Regions from separate parts of the Homo sapiens genome. Here region 2 is linked to region 1. The links are contacts of gene promoters, found by promoter capture Hi-C in blood cells and fetal thymus (Javierre and others, 2016). All regions are on one chromosome and are shown on one strand. Each heading gives the region's core, a stretch centred on a gene start or on the middle of the fragment in contact. The rest is flanking DNA. Distances are from core to core; before and after follow the strand shown. Region 1 holds the start of FHIP1B (FHF complex subunit HOOK interacting protein 1B). Region 2 overlaps OLFML1 (olfactomedin like 1).

Evidence for each region. Contacts are between HindIII fragments. The CHiCAGO score rates a contact against its expected background, and 5 or more counts as called.
Region 2: a contact is called between a fragment that was not itself captured here and the fragment with the promoter of FHIP1B in region 1, in 1 of 17 cell types (total CD8 T cells). The highest score is 8.1, in total CD8 T cells.

What each region holds. Positions count from the first base shown.
Region 1 is chr11:6,229,355-6,235,885 of GRCh38, reverse strand. It overlaps FHIP1B (FHF complex subunit HOOK interacting protein 1B), which reads left to right and starts at 1,250. Exons shown (of 12, transcript NM_001098794.2): 1 at 1,250-1,342. It also overlaps a transcript of CNGA4 not described here. RefSeq lists enhancers at 836-915, 313-1,003 and silencers at 1,046-1,345, 1,526-1,575. The HindIII fragment of the contact is 4,704 bases long and covers 1-3,673 here.
Region 2 is chr11:7,509,806-7,516,655 of GRCh38, reverse strand. OLFML1 (olfactomedin like 1) reads right to left here. Exons shown (of 3, transcript NM_198474.4): 3 at 5,279-6,850. The coding sequence ends at 6,468. LOC124902806 (leucine-rich repeat extensin-like protein 5) reads left to right here. Exons shown (of 4, transcript XM_047428005.1): 2 at 2,051-2,538; 3 at 2,616-4,533. The coding sequence ends at 3,446. It overlaps PPFIBP2 (PPFIB scaffold protein 2), which reads right to left and starts at 2,657. Exons shown (of 24, transcript NM_003621.5): 1 at 2,535-2,657. RefSeq lists enhancers at 27-76, 3,762-3,881 and a silencer at 2,562-3,091. The HindIII fragment of the contact is 513 bases long and covers 5,280-5,792 here.

The DNA of each region.
Region 1 (6,531 bases), core at 1-2,500:
CTAACTGCAACCTCCGCCTCCCGGGTTCAAGCGATTCTCCTGCCCCAGCCTCCCAAGCAGCTGGGATTACAGGCGCGCGCCACTACGCCCAGTTAATTTTTGTATTTGTAGTAGGGACGGGGTTTCACTATGTTGGTCAGGCTGGTCTCGAACTCTTGACCTCGTGATCCGCCCGCCTCGGCCTCTCAAAGTGCTGGGATTACAGGCGTGAGCCACCGCGCCCAGCCGGTAAAGTACTTTTAAAACTACATGCCTTATCTGAAACTTCTATTTTTCTATTTTAGTTTATCTTACTCTTGCTTGTTTCCCAAGACTCGGCTTAGACACCGTCACCTCCCGGAAGTCTTCCCTAAGCTCCTTCACCGTACCTTCCTCTCATCCTCTATACATGCAAATCATGCTAAGTGCTGCTCCTAGGTGGCCCCCGTAGTAATGTACTTATTACACTACGCTGCAATTCTCTGAGGTCCTGGAGAGCAGAGGCCGGTTCTAATTGATCCGGAATCCAGCTGGGCATGCAGGCACTTATTCCGTGTTCCTTGACTAAGTGCTCAAGGGGTGACGGAGCAGCACAGCACAGCGGTGTTGGGGGAGCCAGGGGCAGTCACCGCTGGGGTACTAAAGTAGAGACCAAGCTATGCACGACGATGGAGCAAAATGAACTAGAGTGCCCGCAGTCAGCCCTCTCTAGGGCTCCACTTTTCCGCAGGCCCGGCCCACCTACTGATTCCTCCTCTCTTTTCGTGATAGCCTCGCCCCTCCACACCCACTCTTCCACTCCAAGCGTCTCCTGGAATCCATGGCCCCACCCCTTTCTCGCTCGTCTTTCTTCCGGCTCCATCTCTCCCAAGCCCCGCCCTTCTGATCTTTCCCTGCCTGTAAAAATCGCCTCTCCTTAGGTCCCGCCTTCTGCCCTCTGGTTCCACCTTTCCTTCCCGGGCTCCGCCTCCGCCCTGCCGGCCTCCACCTTCCCAGAGGCCTTCGCCTATGACACGCCGGAGTCCTTCTGAGGGGCGGGGTTTACGTACGAAGGGACGGAACCAAGAGGAGAGGCGGTGCTCCTCCCTCGGATAGCCGTCGGCGACCCCGCCCTTGCGTTTAGCCGTTGCCAGGAAACAAGCGTCCTTGCTCGGGTTTGGTCCGGCTCAGCCAATGAGCTGGCACGCCATTGCCCAGTCGTGCGACGCCGGGCGGTTGCGTGTGGTGCGCGGGGGCGCGGGCTGCGTGTGGCGCGGGGCGGGGCGCGGCTGGTGCGCTTGAGAAGCGATGGCGGCGGCCTGAACTCACCTAACACCGCAGCAGCAACCGGGCCCGGCCAGGTTCGGCGTTCCGTGAGTGAACGGTACGCATGGGCCAGAGGGCCTGGAGAGTCGTTTGTGGGGATGAGAGACTGGGAAAAGACGGTGACGGGTTTGGTTACTGTACTGGTTGTGAGGGGTTGGCAGGTGGTGAGGGTCCGGGTGTGAGTGTCTAAGATAGGGAAGGAGGGTGAGAGCTTACAGGTGAGTGGACAAATGAGGGGCTGTGAGAGGCTGGGTGCTTTCGGAGGTGCCAAGTTGAAGGGACTCCTGAACGCGGTTTACTAGGGCTGGGGCTACTGAGGGCTGGTGTGAAGGATACCCTGGGACTAGAGTGAGGGGTAAGGCCTGCGCGAGGAGAGAGAGAGTAAAAGGCGCAGGTGGGAGCCTGCGGGGTGGCGGCAAATTGGTGAGGGAGTTGAAGGCGAGGCATGGGAGGAGGGAATTAGGGCTTGTGAGACTTGGATAAAGGTGAGAGGTTGGTTCTGAGGCCTCCTTCGATGGACTGCCCTGTCCAGTGAGAGCAATAGTTTTAGACAAAGTAGGGCAGCTTAGATGGAAGTGTTGTGCACCTGACTCCTCTGCTCCCATGGACTTTCCATATTCTGGAGGACGAGAAAATGAAGGTGTCATAGGCAATAGTACTATGGTAATGAAAGTCATATTTGAGGCTCAGACTTCAACAGAGTAATCACAGAAACTTCAGTTCCTTCGAGTTCCTTCTCTGGACTGCATAGTTGAAGATGGGCCCTCTCATGAAGGGTTTTGCGCTGTGACAGCTTGTGTTTTCTCTCTACTTGCTTCTGGACAACCTTATTCCACTGTTGCTCCTTACCTGTGCTTAACTGTGGGTCTTTGATTGGATTGACCATATTCAGTTGCTAATTCTACTTTTATGGAGGTCATATGGTTTGCCCTATACAGTACTATATTTAGGATCCCAAACAGGATGGCCTTACTCTCCTTTCTTACAGTTGAATTTTTTAAAAAGCTAGTTTATATTATATTTAAAATGTGTGTTTGATGAGTTTTGACATGTGTACACATCTGTGAAATCATCATCAGTCTCAAGATACTGAACATTTTAGCCACCTGAAAATTTATCTCTTCCTCTCCACACCCTGTAGTTGGGTTCATCTTACTAGCATTCTTTTAGGTCCTCTTCTCCCCACCAACCCAAATGCACGTGAAATTCTGGAAAGTTGGTTTGGCATTCAGTGATAATGGCCACTTTCACACTACTAAATTTTCCTCTCTACTGCTAGTCAGCCATGGGGTTGGGACATCCTATTCTTTCCAGACTCAGAAAGAGTTAAGTCTTTCCTTAACTCTACAGTGGACAGGGAGAGACCATTTCCTGAGAATTAGACAGCCTCAGTCCCCATTCTTTTCCAGAGTCTTAGCTTCAGAGCCAACTCCTATATCCTGTGGTATATTCTCATTGCTTCTTTCTGGAGTCCAGACAGGCCTCCATATTGGTAGAACACTTGGCAACTTGCCCAGTCAGTCAGAACTTACAGTTCAGAGTTTAGAGTAGTGGTTCCTAAACACTGGACCAAGGACCCTGTACATGATAAAATTATCATCTATCCAAGATGGAGGGAGAGAAAGACAGTATGGTTATTCATGAAGATAAATTTATTCTCAGAGATTATCATTCCTATTCTTTTGGTGTTGCAGTGCTCTTTCGTTGATGCAGTAATGGTAACAGTAGATGGTGGGTTAAAAAAAAAAAGATCTAATTTACCCAAATAAAAAGTGTCAACCCAATTTTTAATTTTAAAAATTATTTCTATAGCTTTATGAACTTCAGAAATTTAAAGTGATGATGGTGTGGCTGTTGTATTAGGTTGAGGAAGCATACATTTATACAATGATTCTGTATAACTTAACATCTGAACAGCATTCATGCTTTACATAGGGATTTCAAATTTTATTATACTGATTTATATAGATACCTTGTAGACAAAGACAGGAACTTTCATTTTATAGATGAGAAATTAAATTCAGTAGCCAGAGATCATACAGGGATACAGTGGCAAGGCTGAACCCAGAATTTTGTCTCAGAGTGAGAGAGACTTTGGGAAAGAAGATTTATAATAGACACTGAAGGTGATGTGGGAGGATTTTTTAATGATTTGTAATTGTTCTATTTCCAAAAGACAGAAAAGGGACTGTGAGAGTGACATAGGGATGAAGGTTATGTTTAATGCTGTCGCAGTGACATTGGAACAGGTATATATAATACCTGGATCACATCTTGATAGTGGATCATATCATGATAGTGATAGGATGAATCAAATCAAATATTAGATGGTTCTTAGGGACTGTCTAAATCCTTGTTATAATGGAGAAAGCACTGGATTTGGTAAGCTTATTGTTTGCTATCCCAAACTCTGTTGAAATAGTAGTGCATTAAGTATAATGGATTTTGATTTGTATCATATAGTGAGTGGTAGTTCTGAGAGGATGAAACATACATGAGGATGATGATGTAGAGATAGAAACATGTTTAGGGTACTGTGTTAATCATTTATTCCATATCTGCTCTGTGCCAGGCACTCTACTAAGTGCTAGGAGAATGAATTCGTTTATTCATTCAACAAATACTTCTTCAACATATAGTCTGTGCTTGTGATGCTCACATTTTATGGGATAACAACATGAATAAAACATGGTCATCCGAGCTCTCAAGGGATTTTCAGTCTAGTAGGGAGAGAGAGACACATGAAAACATAATTTCAATTTAGAGAGATAATGTGAAATGTGAAAATATATCATAATAGGCTGGGCGTAGTGGCTCACGCCTAGCATTTTGGGAGGCTGAGGCAGGCAGATCGCTTGACTTCAGGAGTTTGAGACCAACCTGGGCAACATTTTGAAACCCTGCCTCTACCAAAACAACAACAACAACGACAATAAAACCACCACCAAAAAAACCCACCAAAAATTAGCCAGGTGTGGTTGCACATACTTGTGGTCCTGGCTACTCCGGAGGCTGAGGTGGGAGGATTGCTTGAGCCTGGGAGGCAGAGGTTGCAGTGAGATGAGGTCACACCACTGCACTTCAGCCTGGGTGACAGAGGCCCCACCTCAAGAAAAAAAAAAAAAAAAAAAAGAAAATATATCATAATGAGTTGATTACTCCTTTGTATCTAGTGTCATCTTTCCCTGTATTCCAAGTATACATGTTTATTGATCTGTGTATCTCCACAAGTATCTCAAAATTAACATGTCCAAAACAGAATTCATAGTCTTTGCCCCAAAAGCCCGACTTTGCCCTCATATCCCCTATCTCACTCCAGGCAAGGACTACATTGTCATCTTTCATACTTTCTGCTCTTTTACTCCCTGCATTCAATCATTTGCTAGAATCTTAATACATTTCGCTCTGTGTTATCTCTCTTCTCTATATCTCCATTGCTACATCTTCACTGTCAAAGCTTTAGTTTAGCTCCCCCTCACCTCATATGATTTTTTTAAAACAATTTTTTGTCTTAAAACTTGCTATTTTCTGGTCCATCCCTAGAATGATTTTTCTGAAAATACACATCTGATCTCCGAACTCCTTGGCTTAAAAACTTTTGGCTCTTTGTGTCCTGTAGGACAACATCCAAATTTCTTAATATGGCATCATTTAGCTTCAGCTTACCTCTCCAGTCTCGTGTGCCACTCCCTAGTCTGTATTCTAGTTTGAATAAATTGTTCACAGTTCCCTAAAACCATGCTGCTTTTTTGAGCCTTGAAATCTTTGTAATAGCTGCTTCCTCTACTAGGAATGCCTTTTCTTCTCTGCCCAGTGAACTTTCCTTATCCTTTAGGATCTAGTTCAGTTTCACCTCCTTTTTGACATCTCTGTCAAGGTAGAGATAACTGTGTGTGACATGAGGATTCATTGCTGTAAAGAGGAGTCACTGTAGAATAGAGGTTCACTTTTGTGAATTGGATGGACCCCGCTGGAGTCAGATGAGGAGATCCCTGCAAGAAGCAGAAGTGATATTGCGGGGAGGGAAGGGAATGAGTTGGGACCATACCCTGACATCCCATTTGTCTGAGGGATGGAAAAGCAGGGAAGAAATGTGTAAGCTGAGCTCTAGTATAAATTCCTAGTAGGTGGTGTTTTTGGTTGGTTGGTTTTTCCCTTTGTATTTCTATGAGATTTTAATCAGGTCATTCAACTTCCAGTATTTAGGGTAACAGCCCATTCATCCTCCTTATGTCAGTAATTAGTCTTCTTGCCTAGGAAGAGCCACTGTAAGGAGAGAGACACCACAGAATTTTACTGACCTGTTCTTGGAAGATCATTTTGGTCTCTCTGTCCAATGTAGGTGTTGCAGGTATATCCCTTCCCCCAGCTCCCTCCTCTTTGCCTCTCCCAGGGCAAAGGTTCATAAGTGAGGCTGAGCCACTTCCTGCCCTGTATCTGCAGTTCCGAGGTTGGTTGTCACCCTTGCTGTGTGTGGCTGTAAGGCTGTATTTTGGGCTATAAGGTGAGTGCCTGATCTTGGCCATTTTGGGTCTGAGAGATCAGCTCGTTCCCCTTTTTACTCTGTGGCTGAGCCTGAAGGTAAATCTGGAGAGTGGCAGGTTCTGCTTTTTTTTTTTTTTTTTGGACTTTGCTATGGGAGGAAAGGACACCATGAGAGGGTGGTGATTTTAACCTTTTCTTTGTCTTGTTCTGAACATTGCAGAGAGTCTAATTAGGTGATAGGAATACCAAACTATAGCTTTCTTTTATGCTTTTGTTGTATGTGAACAGGGCCCAGTTTAAGTATTGGCTTTTGGAATCTGAGATGCTGATTCCAACATCTTCTCTTGAGGTCTTTGAAATGGGATTGTAGAACTGCGGTGGGCAGGTGGGTGAGGAAGGGTCCTGGAGGCTAATCTTCCTTGGTTCCATGAGCAGTACCCTTTGTTGGTCAAGTGGTGGAGCAATAATGGGCACCTCAGGTATACTGCAAGGTAGGAGCAGTTAATGTTTGAAATTAAATTCCAGAAGCTGGAGGCAGTTTAGTTTTGGACATGTTAAGACCTTACTGAGACTGAATGCTTGGCCTTTCTTCAGCTGACTGAGGTATGCATGGGAGGCGATAAGGATGGACACATCAGAGCAGGTTATATCTCTTTTCTCAGTCAGAGATATGGGCACTTGGGTCAAATAGGATCAGGAGAAGGAAGCAGGAAAGGGACATGTAATTTACAGAGTACCTTCTTTATGGTTGGAATGCTACAT
Region 2 (6,850 bases), core at 4,287-6,786, 1.3 Mb before region 1:
TATAAAACCCCTGCCTCGTCCTCACTTGGTGCTGACGCCATTTTAGGCCTCAGCCCACCTGCACCCAGGCGCTCGTTAAAACAGCACGTTGCCCCACACCGCCTCATGTTGTCTGTTGGCAGGCTCTCGGGGTTCGAACCAATACAAGAACCTTTCATAAACTTTACCTTAAACATTACAGTCTAAAGGCCATACCATTCCTCAGGCCCAAAGCTGAATCTTCCCAGCATTGTTTCTCCCTCCTCACTTCTCATTGCATCTAATCAGTCTAGAGACTGTCCCATTCCCTAGTCCTCTGTCCTACAGATTCTATCTCTCCGAAGTCTCCCTACCTGTCCCCACCTCATCACTCTCTCAGGCCCAAAATAAGGCCTCATCCCTTTGACCCTGGATCAGCCTCCCGGTTTCCTATCCGGCCTCGCCGCCCCCACTGTCTTTTTCCCTTGGAGTTTGCTTCCCACCACACTCCCAGAACTTTGCCATTGCAGCAGTTGCCTTCGGGTTTGTCAACAGAATCACCTGGGGGAACTTGGTAAAAACATCCCAGACTACTTAATCTGAACGTTTTACAAAACTCCCCAGGCGATTATGAGGCATAGCCAGGTTTGCAAACTGCTACTCTAAATCCTTGCTACACATAGGGAAATGATCAGCAAGCTCCTGGGAATCTGTTAGAAACACAGAATGTCAAGTCCCACCCCTGACCTATGGAATCATAATTTGCATTTGAACAAGATCCCCACAGGATTCTCAACTTTGAGAAGCTCTGCTCTACAGTGTTGTCAGACCATGCACTCCACAAATATTTACTGGATTTTCTCTGTATCAGGCTAGGAATTGGGAGGGTCAAGGACCAAGGTCTTTGACTTTGAGAAGTTCACAGAACCATCAGTCAGTCCCCTGCTGTGCCTTCAGACCAAGTCCAGACTTCTGTACTGGACAGCTGGGACTATTTTCCAGCCTTGTCACCAGCTTTCCTGACTAGCACTTGACATAAGAGCCAAGCTGGACCACTGGCCACTTCTCATGGTGAGTCCATGCCTGCCTGCCCACACAGTTGTCACAGCCCAGGCCACACTCTACCCTTCTCTGCCTCAAAAACCCCAGGAGGGATCCTTTGAGGTCCATCACATCACCCTTTCTTAAAATTATCCCAGATTTCCCTGCTCAGATGAAAGACAGGAATTCCCATAACTTTGTTCCTACCGCCTTCATGTCATTGATCTCATTCCACTTACTCTTTTAAAGTCAAAGCGCATCTCCCTTAGCTACCCAGTAAAGAAGGCATCATGGTAAGCAGCTTATCTCTCCAGTAGCAATAAGCTAACAACTGTCACATCACCAAATCTTAAAATAGTATTACTAATAATTGAAATATGTTAAATAAAACATGGATAAATGCAATCAGTGAAAACCTCATCAATCATCCCCATCTCCCACTTCAAATTTATTTAGCTATGAATTTAAGCAAAGTACAAATGGGTTGCCTCTCTTAAGCCAAAGAGAAATAATTTCTAAATTAGATAACACTTACAGCTTTCCATACACCTATAATAATGAAAGACTGAATATGCTGAAGATGAATTATGTCGAAAACCAACTACTTTTCTGTAGTTGACCATTTAACTTCACATAATACACTACAAATTTGAAAACACTTCAGATTTGTATTACAATCAATTAAGGAGGGGTTGAGAAAGGAGAGAGACGAAGAGAAAGACAGGAAGTAGACCAAAATATAGAAAAGGGACACGGATCTATACCAAATATCTGGCTGCTCTAAAAGTAAAAATATAATTAGATTCGTTTTTTAAGAAGATTAAACACTGGCAAGAATGCCTGTCTTAATCCTATCCAAACGCTGGAAGTTCTGTTCTCTTGTTACATAATCTTATTTTCATCCGAGGAAAAACTGCGGGTCTGGAATCTGATGTGATGAGGTGAGGAGGGAGCCCACTTTTAAATAGGACCGTCCCCATCCTGCAGTCTACTGGGACGCGGCGGCTTTAGATTTTAAAAAGTGTGCTGTATTTTTGCACTTACACTACAGAACTGGCTTTAGCCGAGGCCCTGCATCTAGACACACGCTGTGTCCACCAGAGAATTGCCTGGGCTGACAGACCTAAAGCTTCCGCAACCTCCTTAGGCTCCCTAGTCCACGCCGCTGCTCCCCGGGCTGAGCAGGGCTGGGACGCGCCGCACAGAACTCAGGGACCCCACCTCCCTGCGCATCTCCAGGGCCACGCTGGCACCTGCAGGAGTGCGGACTGTCCGCGGATCCCAGGCAGGGTTGGGTGGAGATTCGCAGCCAACCCACAGGAGTTCTGCCCTCCTCCCAGGCTTCTGGCCAGTGGAGTTGGAGAAGGGTCCCCGTCCTCGAGCCTGGGACACGCTCCGGGGCTCACAGAGACACTGACCCACACGTCCCCGTGGTTCGTAGCTCTGGGGGCGCTCCACTCCCTAGGTAATGCTCCCGACGGGGATCCCAACCCCGACCGCGCGGCAAGCCCGGGGTGTGGGGAGAGCCCACTGACCTGGGTACGGGGCCGAGGCTCCTCTCCGGGCGGCTCAGGTGTGCGGGCCGCTCCCGTGTCCCTCCCACCTTCAAACATGAGAGCCCAGAAGCGAGCGACGGGCCACTGGCCCACCGACCAACTGCCGGACCAAGCGCCCGACCAACCAGCGGACCGACCGCAGCGGCCGGGGCCGGCGCCCACGTGACGGGGCGGGGACCTGCGGAAGGCTCTTCCCGGAGCGCCGCGCCCCCACCCCGGGACCTGCCACAGGGACCACCCCCTTGGGCACCCGCTCCCTCTCGGGCACCGAAGAAGCCTGCTGGGACCCGTCCACCAGGGTTCCTGTTCCCGGGGGACCGGCCTGGTCAGCCCCGCCCCTTCGAACCTGCCTCGTCCCCACCCCCTGGGCCGCGCGTCCGGGCCCCAGCCCCGCCTCTCTCGGCGGACCGCGCCCCCTTCCGGGAGCCCCGCCCCGTTCGCCGCGCCTCCTCCTCCGCACAGCTCCGGTTGCGGGGAGGCCCGGGTGGGTACCCGGCGCTCCGGCTCCCAGTCTCCTGGGCTTCTCCAGTCCTTCAGCGCCGTTCTCCGGTCACAGGGAATGAAAGCGAGGAAGAAGGAAACGGTGTCGAGAATTGCGAAGAGAGAAAGCATAGAAAACCCACATTAGAGGCACTCCCAGAGCAGAAACCCTTCGGAGCATCCCGACTTCCTCGGCCCGCGTGCAATCCAGGCAAAATTGAGGTTGTCTCTGAGCCGCCCTCCCTAAGCAGGTCGGAAAGCCCCCGAATCATCCCAGGTCCCGCCGCGCTGCACTCGCAACCTGGGGTGGAGGTCCCTCTAGTGGTTGGCACCAAACAAAAGTTCTGTCTTATGAAGAGCCGAGGTCAGGAAGCATTTCCCTGTGCCCAGCGCCAAGGTCTGGGACCTTAGGTCCAAGAAAAGCGTTGGCAATGTCTGACCACAGGAATGGGTTCTCGAACTGGGGAGGACTGAAGCTGGAGATCTGGTCCAGCCCCTACCTCCAGCGTGTGGCCTGAACCCGTTTTGGTTGTACTGCTATGTTGTGGCCCTGCCCAGGCCTCCAAGGACTGGCTGCTGTTAAGCTGTTTAAAATCCCTGTAGGCCTCAGATGGCAGCGACACCAGGGACTCGGCATAGTCCCCAGCTCTGGCAGGAGTCACCACAGCCCTAGCCTTTAGTTCTCTACAGGCTGGAGTGTCGACAAACTCCACAGGACACAACTTTTTCAAACCAAATTTACCCTCGCGGTCTGAAATGACCAGTAGGCCCAGGAGAATTTTACATGTGAACAGAACCTAACCCACCCTGGCAAATATGAGACGTGTGGTCACTGCGGGAACCTGGCCAGCAGCAGACCAAAGCACAGCCAGCAGGGGAAGGCTGGGGCCCGCAAGAGTTGTGTTACAACAGGACACCCTTCAGTTCTCTTTCACTTCCTTAAAATAGCAGCAGAGCGACTTTTGTAGACGCAGGCTGCCACAGTTCACACAAGGTCATGGCTGTTTCCGAATCCCACCCTTTATTGCCCTAGCGGAGCCACTCCCCTTACCTCCGCCCCCAGAAACTGCTAGCCTGTTCTTAAATTGATACAGTTACCTTTTTAAATGTTCTAAGTCACCGGCTCTGGAGCTTCTTTGCACTTTGGAACCAACTTGCGGGAAGGAACTTTAAAAATACTGATATCTCGATCCATCCCCAGAGGTTCTGATTTAATGGTCTTGGGGATATGGCCACGGCATGAGGACTGTTAAAACTCCGCAGGTGATTCTTATGTGCAACAAAGTTTAAGAACCACTGATGTAGGCCATGTCGATGTCAGTCTTCACTTAAATCCAACAAGACCCCAGAGCTAAAACGTTCACCTGAAAGAAACCCCATTCCCAGGCCTGCATACTGACCTGCGCTGGCTCACAAGAAGCAAAGTGGTCCCTTAACAGGGGCTTCCTGGAGAAAATGTCTTGACCTAAAAGAGTGATTCGAGCTGCAGGGATTTAAGGTAGGTACCAAGGTGAGTTGTTTGGGGCAGATGTGCCCTGCAGAGCTGTCAATCAAATCATATCCCAGGTGGAATCTAGACAGCACATTTCAGGCAACCTCCCCTCTGTGCCTCCAAAGGAACTATGGTTGCAGGACTCACTCCTATTGATAAATCTACCCCACTATCCTCTGTGAGGCAGCCCACATTCCTTCTATCTGTGAAATAGGTAGGTAATAGGGCAGGTAATATCACATTTATTTATTCATACCTGTCTCATTCCACAAAGGATTTGGCCTCTCTGTACCATTCTGTTAGAACTGTGGGTAATTACACTGTATCCATGGGTTGAGTAATTCCCTTCTGCCAAATATCTACTCAAATGCTATGGAAAAAAACATTTTCTCTTCACTGCCTATGGTCCCAGCCTGGGCTTGGCAAAGACAGGAAAACAGCTGCAAGCACACAAAGCAAACCTTCTCATGTGACCAACCTGGAAAGACAGAGGCTTCAGCACGTGACACAGACTGGCACCACAGCCTGCACTTGTGACTCGAACTTAGCTGAATTGGACAAACACGTGGGAAACACTGAGGAAGCCCCTGTCAAGAGGCATGCTGCCCTCGGTGCCACAGGGCATGCCTGCTGTGGCAGAGTCGCTTGCCTGCTGTATGGCTTCTGTCCAGATTCCAGAATATTTACCAGGGCCTCAGTGTGTTGGGAATCATTCACAGTAAACCTAACACAAGCAGCACTCCCAGAAAGCTTTTGTGCTTAGGGTATGTGGGCAAATATAACCTGATGAGGTTATTTGCTCAGTGTCACTTTTATTGAATTTAAAGCAGAAAGAGAGAAACAGAGGACAGCAAGACAAGAGGAGGCTAGAGTTGGGGTCCTCACCCTTAGACTGGTTTTCTGGAGGAATTATCATTTGAAAGGCCTATTGAAAGGTCTTGTGCAGACATGAAAACTGGCTAAAGGGACAGACTATTATTTTTAGGCTGAAACGATGAACGCATTGACTATAAGAGTAGGTGAACAAACATACGTATTTGATGCTTCCTTGGGCAATGGAAAAACTATGGGATTTGTAGTATTTTCTAGCTGTATCTTTCACTTTGTAATTGTGTTACTCACCTAAACTCTAGAATGACAGCTGTAAAGACTTGTGCATGTTTCACAAAGGTGAAACGAGAATTAAATGATGTGCAAACACTCCACACCTGGAAAGCGATATTCAAATGTTAATATTTTCACTTTATTATTACATCTACCAAGCTTAGTGGAAGGACAGGGCTAGGGGAAATAGAGGTTAAACCTCAATAAGAAATAGTATTTTAAGCCAGGTGTGGTGGCACATGCCTGTAATCCCAGGTACTTAGGAGGCTGAGGCAGGAGGATCTCTTGAGCTCTGGAGTTTGAGACCAGCCTGGGCAACATAGTGAGACCTTGTCTCAAAAAAAAGAAAAGAAAAGAAAGAAATATTAATAGTATTTTAGTTGGGCAGTGAAAATGGGAGAATATCAATAGACATTTGAAAAAGAGGGAAGAGCTTCAGCAAAGGCCAGGGGAGAGAAAAGCCAGTGGTGAATATTAGGGGCTGGCATACAACTCTAATTGTGGGAGGGAAGATGGCAGAGTTACAGTAAATGCTGGGGAGCAGTAAAACAAAAGGCTTGAAGTAGGCTGTATCAGAATGTGGTCATCCTTGAGAGCCAGGAGGTTTGGGGGAGTAATGGACATTGTTGAAACTTTCCTGATGATATGCTCTCATCTAAGCTCTTGGAAGATACCTAAGGCAGTGACATTTGGGAAAGGAGGCATACGTATTTCCACTTCTACACACTCTTCCTGTGTGTGATTAGAGGGATACTATATTGTGAAGGGGCTATAGCCTCACTGTCCTGTAGAACAGCTGCCAAAGCCACAGTGCTCTTTCTCACAGCTGTAATGCATTACTTCAGAGGCAGCTTTCTCTTTGTCTGGAGTTTGTAAATGATCTGGTTTCCTTCATTCCAGGCATAGAGCTGCTTATCTCTGGGGTTGTAATGGATCATGGAGTGACTTCTTGGTCTCTTGGGGAAGAACAAGTTGGGCAAGTCCTCCTCACTGATAGTGCCCAGTGGATCATAGATGCAGGTGATGCGATGAGGGCCCTGGCCCCCAGTACTGTAGACCACATAGAGAACCCCACACAAGAGGAATGAGGCTTCAGCATCCTGGCTTCTGCATGGGGTATCCCATGAATGCTCCACTCCCAGTGTGCCCGGCTCAATCTTTGTGAGAACCAAATGGCTATGGGTGCCTGGCCCAGAGTGGATGGCCCAGAGCCCATGCT